Regions from separate parts of the Homo sapiens genome. Here region 1 is linked to region 2. Evidence: promoter capture Hi-C in 16 types of primary human blood cells and fetal thymus (Javierre and others, 2016). All regions are on one chromosome and are shown on one strand. Each heading gives the region's core, a stretch centred on a gene start or on the middle of the fragment in contact. The rest is flanking DNA. Distances are from core to core; before and after follow the strand shown. Region 1 holds the start of NT5DC4 (5'-nucleotidase domain containing 4). Region 2 holds the start of POLR1B (RNA polymerase I subunit B).

Region 1 (3,571 bases), core at 127-2,626, 180 kb before region 2:
TGTGCTGAGCCTCCACCGTGGGCCTGCGTCCTTCCTCCCTCCCTCCCTCTGTCCTCCCCCAAGGTGAGCAGTCCTCCCCTCCTGGCCTGCCACTCTCCCGGCACCTTTGTCCCTTACTCCGAGAGGAAGGTGAAGCCATAGGCACCCAGCAGCACATTCCCGTGGGCGTCCACCTTCAGCAGGTTCCCATAGAGTTCATCGAACACCAGCCGCCTGCAGACGGGGGGTCGGGGGGCACTGTGGGTGGGGGTACCAAGGCCGGGTGGCCTCCCACCTGTCCTGAGCCACACACCTGGTGGGGAAGGTGGGGTCGTAGGTGTAGCGCAGGATCTCATGCGGGTACCCAATGCACACCAGGCGCTCCAGCAGCAGCTCGAAGGTCAGGGCCTCATAAGCTGGGGACTTGTAGGCTGCAGAGGCCCGGACAGAATCAGGGCTTTGGTGCCCAGCTGCCCACCCCTGCTCCCTCCAGCTCCCAATACGCTGTGTTCCAGCCCTCTCTACCAGCCAGAGTGTAGTCCATGTCGAAGCCAAAGCAACGAATCTTCCCCAGCGCCAGGCTGCGGTTGACAAAAATCCTGGGGAGAGAGAGGAGGATGTTGGCATCAGTCCACCAGCCCCCCAGAATCCAAGGCCCAAGGACAGAGGGGGTGGAAACCCCGCAGAGGAGGGCAGAGCACCCCCTGCAGCTGCAGAAAGCACAGGGGAAGCAGGTCAGGCCAAGCCAGGGCCCTGCCTGGACCCATGTGTGTCTGAAGGCAAGTGTGAGTGTGCATGTAAGCATGTGTGAGCATGTGTGCAAGCGTGCATCTGAGTGTGTGCGGGCAATCAGCCGCTTGCTGTCCCACCATGCAGGCATGTTATAGGCATCCAACCCTGTAAGAAAGTAGGTGCAGTTGTTGGTGTGAGGGTTGTCACCTTCTGAAATGGGACCCCAGTGTCCAAATTCAGAGATGATGTGTTTGTCACAATTGGATAGCACATGTCACTGTGTCCGTGGTGAAGGGGAGAGATCTTCGTGGAGGGAAGGAAGTGAAGAGGACCTCCCGCCGGAGTGTGTGTGGTCAGTTCCCTGATGGGTTGTTACAGCTATGGAAGTGCGTCCCTTGTGAGTGCAAGTGTACGTCTGCATTTTGGGAGTCCCCATAGCTGTGTATTTAAAGGAGCCCCTGTGTGCTGCTGTGGCGTGTGGGGTGTTTATGGGCTGAGACCCCTGGCCCCCACCCCAGGTGCCCATCTCACCGCTGGTGCCAGTCCTGCTTCGGGCCTTGAGGGGAGACCAGTCCCTCCGGCTCTCTCCAGTCTACACTGGCCATCGTCACCCAGAGTGAGGAGGAGGCAAGTGTCCCTTCCTCAGCCTCCTGCACACTATCAGTGGGGCCCAGCCACTCTCCTCTCCCTCAGAAGCTTCAGGCACCACTGACCCAGCTGGCCCCACCCTGTGCTCCCATCTCCCCCGAGCCCCTTTGAGGGAGGAGTCAGCCAGGACAGGCTCTGGTATCCCATCCTTTTCTCTAGAGCAAAAGCAGCAAGGATCTAGGAAGAGCAATTCATGTCCACTGCACCCTCCTCATTCCTAGGGCTTATGCATCCATGGACCTCAGCGGCCTGGAGAGTAGCGGAGAACCCAGAATGAGGCAAATGACGGGATACAAAGTCAGGAGGCTCCGTACTGTACTCATGATAAAAGAAATAACTCAGTACTCTTGCTTTATGCACAATTCTGACACATTTGGTTATCAAATTTCCCAGCTCAAGGCCATTTAGAGAAGACATTGCTAGAAGCATGCCAAGGGCTATAAGAATTGGGAAGATAACTGGGATCTCAGAATGGGGGGGTGGCAGAAAGTACAAAAGGAAGTGTCAAAAAGCAGAACCACTGGGGCCATTTAGTGTAGAGTTCTAAATACTCCCTGAGGGCCCATACCACTGGCTCCACAACCAAGCATGTGACTTCCATTTGGAGCGGTGACCTGGATCATCCAGAAAGACTTAACTGAAGTGCCAGGCCCTCTTTTAAAAAGAAAGACAAGGCTGGGCACAGTGGCTCACGCCTGTAATCCCAGCACTTTGGGAGGCCAAGGTGGGTGGATACGTGGTCAGGAGATCAAGACCAGCCTGGCCAAGATGGTGAAACCCTGTCTCTACTAAAAATACGAAGAAAAAAAAAATTGCCCTCTTGGGAGCCTGAGGCAGGAGAAAAAAAAAATTAGCCTCTTGGCAGCTTCTCGGGAGGCTGAGGCAGGAGAATTGCTTGAACCCAGGGGTTGGAGGTTGCAATGAGCCGAGATTGCTGCACTCCAGGCTGGGCAACAGAGTGAGATCCTGTCAATAAAAAGGGAAAGAAAAAGGAAGAAAGAAGGAAGGAAGGAAGGAAGGAAGGGAAAAGAAAAGAAAAGAAAAGAAAAAGAAAGAAAGAAAGAAAGAAAGAAAGAAAGAAAGAAAGAAAGAAAGAAAGAAAGAAAGAAAGAGAAAGAAAGAAAGAAAGAAAAAGAAAGAAAGAAAGGAAAGAAAGAAAGAGAAAGAAAGGAGGGAGGGAGGGAGGGAGGGAGGGAAGGAAGGAAGGAAGGGAAAGGAAAGGAAATGAAGAAAAGGAAAGGAAGAAAGAAAAGGGCCTGGCGCAGTGGCTCACACCTGTAATCCCAGCACTTTGGGAGGCCAAGGCGGGCAGATCACTAGGTCGGGAGTTTGAGACAAGCCTGGCCAGCACGGTGAAACCCCATCTCTACTAACAATACCAAGATTAACCAGGCATGGTTGCGCATGCCTGTAATCCCAGCTACTCAGGAGGCTGAGGTGGGAGAACCACTTGAACCCAGAAAGCAGAGGTTGCAGTCATCCAAGATCGTGCCACTGCACTCCAGCCTGGGCAACACAGCAAGACTCCGTCTCAAAAAAAAAAAAAAAAAAAAAAGACAGACAAGTTTACAGTCGGTTTCAGCACTTTCTCTCTAAAATGGCTAAACTAAACTAAATGAAGGTGGCACTCTTAAAAGGATAAAAGTTATCTGGAACAACAACAGAAAAACATATCCATGGAAGAGCTCCTTCCTTGACAAAGCCAGGTGAGCAAGCACAGTTGTGTGCTGCGGAACGATGTTCCGCCCAACAGTGGACTGCGTATGCCACTGAGTCCCATAAGGTGATAAGGAGCTCAACAACTCCTATGGCTTAGTGACCTCATCGCCATCATAATGCAAAGCATCACTCACATGTTTGTGGTGATGCTGGCTAGGAGAAATAGGCTGTACCCTGCAGCCGAGGTGTGTAGTAGGCTGTACCATCTAGGTTTGTGTAAGTGCACTCTATGACATCACACAATGGTGAAATCGACTAATGACACGTTTTTCAGAACAGATCCCTGTGGTCAAGCCCCGCATGACTGTATTAAGATGGTGAGGCAAGGATATGGAGGCTGTAGGATATGTGTTTCCTCATCGGATGGAGGAATGGAGGATGGATGGAGAGATGGGTGGATGCATGAATGAGTGAATGGACAGACAGTTGGATGGGTAGATTCGTGGATAGACGGGCTGATGGTTAGCAGGCTATATACAGCAGCCTTCACGGA
Region 2 (3,902 bases), core at 264-2,763:
AGCTGGGACCAGCTACTTGGGTGCGCACCACCATGCCCCACTAATTTTTAAATTTTTGTGGAGATGGGGTTTCACTATGTTATCCAAGCTGGTCTTGAAATCCTGGGCTCAAGTCATCCTTCTGCCTTGGCCTCCCAAAGTCCTGGATTACAGGTGTGAGCCACTGCACCCAGCCCGATTAACTTTTAATTAGGAATTTTTTCTCACAGACATGATACTGTAACAATCCAGGCACAATACAAATAACCCCCACCCCTCTAGTCTTTCTAAACAATAAATCTTAATGGCTCCCATATTATTTGCCGAATAGAGTTCAAGAATCAGACTGGCAATCAAAGCTCTCCACATTATCTGTATCCCTATCTCCCACAACACAAATCTTACCCAACAAAACCACAGGTAGGGTCCCCGAAGCATGTGACTCTGCTCTACTCTTCCCCTGGACGAAATGCACGTTTCTCACTTCTTGAACTCATCTAATCCTGCCCTTTCTCAAACTCCTGGATTAGTTGCGCCGCCCATAGGCTCCCGCAGTAGCCCACACAATCCCTTGGCAGAGCAGTTCTCAAGAACATTGGCATGCACTGCTTTCATTATCTTCACCCCTTCAACCCCCAAACACGACAGGGAGCACTTAAATGCATGAACTGTCTCGTACACGGGACTGCCTCCTCCACATCCTCTGAGCCTAGTGCCTGGAGACACTGGGGATGCTTACTAAACGAAGCTTTCCCCCACCATACTCACTTGAATTCTGCTACCATTACTCTACGCTAATAATGCAATTACACTTTTCGATTCAATCTTGCTTTCATGACTCATTTATACCTTCCTCGGCACCTGCTTAATTCATAACAAATGACGAGTAGTTTCTCTCTTTAAAGCTCTAAGAGAAGGAAACTGAAGGATAACCTTGAACATTACACTGTACCTACAAATACGTTCGGGATCTTTCGAGGTACGTTTTGGAGAGGTAAGTCTTCAAGTGATATAAAGCCGTGTGCATTGTGAAGCACATCCCCAGATAAGCCACTTCCTCACTCTCACAGCACCCCGAAACTGTCCAAACTACGGTTCACAATCACTTTTCACTCCAGAATCACGAATACATCTCTTAAGACGCCTCGACTCCAAGTCTCACGAAGGCCAGTACCGCGTCCTGTTTAACATGTTGTGCTCTCCCGCTTACCCACCAAGCCTGTCAGGATCAAGGAGCACATGCATCTGGGGTCATACTGTGACCTCCCAGCCACCTCCCTGGGATTGGCCTCGCCGCGGCAAGGGCGCCGGCGGACGCCGCGCTCACCTGCACCGCGAGGCCGAGACCCTCGTGCACAGCGTAGTTGAAGGACTCCACGTGCGCCCGCGTCAGCTCCTGCAACGCTGCCTTTTGCTGTTCCCGCGGGATTCCATAAGAGGGGTCAGTCAAGTGCTTTAGGCTAGGCCCGCTGGGCAGGTTCCGCCACCGGCTGCCAGGATCCATGTGGCCACCTGCACACCGGACGCCAGTCTCTCGGTACACGCCGGACGCCAGTCTCTCGGTACACGCCGGAAGTAGTGGCCGCAGTCCCGTTTCCGCAGCCTGCTGGGAAATGTAGTTCCCTCTCGTTCCACCCGCCCTAGGCCCTGCGGTTTCGGTTTCTCGGGGTCAACGTAGAACCAAAAACGTCGAGTGAACGGGCCGATTAAGGCCGTGTCCAGCCAGAGCGTGGCGGGCCCTCCCTTTCTCCCATATTCCGCCCCACTCATCTCCCCGCTCGCGAAAGATGCCGCAGGTGGAAACCCGCTCCCCGCCCAGTTGAGCATGTGACCTCTTTGGCTCTCATTGGCTCAGTCAATTAGGATCGGAGGAGAGCGGTCTTCTCAGGCTCTCTTCTGTTTCCCTTCACCTGTTCCCAGTCCCACGCTGATGCCGACCCTGGGGAGTCATCCGGCCAAAGTCGTTGCTTCAACGAAAAAGCGGATGCCGGGCCCCGGGCTGACTCTCTACCCAACTCCTAACTCGCGAGGCTCACCCCTGGGAAGCCAAGGAGTGGTCGGGCCCCGCTAACCTCGTCGCATCTTCCGGACTGGAGGCCTGGGGGAGGCCTGGGGAAGGAGGTGGGAGAGGAGTCGGGCGGTCCCGGATGGAGGGGATGGGGCAGCGGGGCGTCCAACTGGATTTACAGCCTGAATTTCTTTTGCGTTCCTGTGAGCCCCTTACCTCCCCAGAATACTGATTAATCAGGGAATGCCTGCTGGTTTTTCAACTTTATTGTGTTTGTGTTTAACAGCTATATTGCGTTATAACTGGCATACAATAAACCACACATTTAAAGTGTACGCGTTAAGTTTTGACCTATGTATACAACCATGCAGCCATCACCACAATTAAAACAATGAATTAAACCACCACTACCCAGTATCCTCCTGCCCCTGATAGTCCCTCCTTACTGTCAACTTCCCCTTTCCTAGTTCAGCTGGTACTTTTCATTCCTATATCACTTTTTATAAAAAATTCGAGCCGGGAGTCTGTTGCACAGGCTGGTCTTGAACTTCCGGCCTCTAGTGATCCTCTCGCCTTGCCTCCCTAAATGCTGGGATTACAGGCATGAGCCACCGCGCGCGCCCGGCCAACTGAGTAGTTGTAGTTCTTTATATAGCCTATACTAGTCCTTGTCAGATCCATGATTTGCAAATATTTTTCTCCCATTCTGTGGGTTTTTACTTTCTTGCTGGTGTCCTTTGAAGCAAAACGTTTTAATTTTGAAGTGTAGTTTTTTTCTTTTGTTGCCTGTCTTTTTATATCATATCTAAGACATCATTGTGTAATCCAAGGTCATGAGGATTTAAAAAAAAATTTATGGGTACATAATTAGCATATTTATGAGGTATATGAGATGTTTTCATATAGGCATACGATGTAATCATCACAGGAGGGTAGATGGGGTTTCCATCACCTCAAGCATTCATCATTTCTGTCATGAACATTCCAATTGTACTTCCTCAGTTATTTTTGAAGGTACAACAAATTATTGCTGACTGCAGTCACCCTGTTGTGCTATCAAATACTAGATATTTTTCAATCATGGGGATTTTCACCTATATTTTCTACTAAGAGTTTTGTAGTTTCAACTCTTACATTTAAGTCTTTGACTCATTCTGAGCTAATTTTTGTATATGGTGTGAGAAAGGCATATCACTTTATTCCTTTGCATGTGGATATCCAGTTGTCCTAACACCATTTGTTAAAAAGACTATTCTTTCCCTCATCAAATTGTCTTGGCCTCCTTGTCGAAAATCAGTTCACTATAGATGCAAGGGTTTATTTTTGACTCTCAGTTCTATTCTCTTGATCTGTATGTCTATCTACATTTATCTGTATATCTGTCTACAAACTACACAGATTTGATTAATACAGCTTTGTAATAAATTTTGAAATCAGGAAGTGCACATCCTCCAACTTTGTTCTTCTTTCTCCAGATTTATTTGATCCTTTGTATTTCAATATGGATTTTAGCGTCAGCTTAGCTTGTCAATTTCTTTCTCTTTTTTTTTTTTTTTTGTTTTTTGTTTTTTTGAGACAGAGTTTTGCTCTTGTTGCTGAGGATGGAGTGCAGTGGCATGATCTTGGCTCACTGCAACCTCTACCTCCTGCCTCAGCCTCCCAAATAGCTGAGATTACAGGCATGCACCACCATGCCTGGCTAATTTTGTATTTTTAATAGAGACAGGGTTTTACCATGTTGGCCAAGCTGGTCTTGAATTCCTGACCTCAAGTAATCCATCTGCCTTGGCCGCCCAAAGTGCTGGGATTACAGGTGTGAGCCACCACACCCGGCCCAGCTTGTCAATTTCTGCAAAGAAGGCTGAGATTCTTGATCAGGATTGTGTTCAATTGGTAGATCAATTTGGGGCCTATT

The links. Contacts are between HindIII fragments. The CHiCAGO score rates a contact against its expected background, and 5 or more counts as called.
Region 1: the fragment with the promoter of NT5DC4 here is called in contact with the fragment with the promoter of POLR1B in region 2 in 7 of 17 cell types (erythroblasts, neutrophils, M1 macrophages and 4 more); the score reaches 10.2 in erythroblasts.

What each region holds. Positions count from the first base shown.
Region 1 is chr2:112,718,825-112,722,395 of GRCh38, reverse strand. NT5DC4 (5'-nucleotidase domain containing 4) reads right to left here and starts at 1,376. Exons shown (of 17, transcript NM_001393655.1): 1 at 1,243-1,376; 2 at 505-578; 3 at 293-410; 4 at 118-213. The coding sequence starts at 1,316. The HindIII fragment of the contact is 3,072 bases long and covers 1-1,409 here.
Region 2 is chr2:112,540,076-112,543,977 of GRCh38, reverse strand. POLR1B (RNA polymerase I subunit B) reads right to left here and starts at 1,513. Exons shown (of 15, transcript NM_019014.6): 1 at 1,307-1,513. The coding sequence starts at 1,483. It overlaps TTL (tubulin tyrosine ligase), which reads right to left. Exons shown (of 7, transcript NM_153712.5): 7 at 2,239-3,902. LOC105373562 (a long non-coding RNA gene) reads left to right here and starts at 1,766. Exons shown (of 2, transcript NR_136321.1): 1 at 1,766-1,775; 2 at 1,900-2,322. RefSeq lists an enhancer at 1,481-1,630. The HindIII fragment of the contact is 8,470 bases long and covers 730-3,902 here.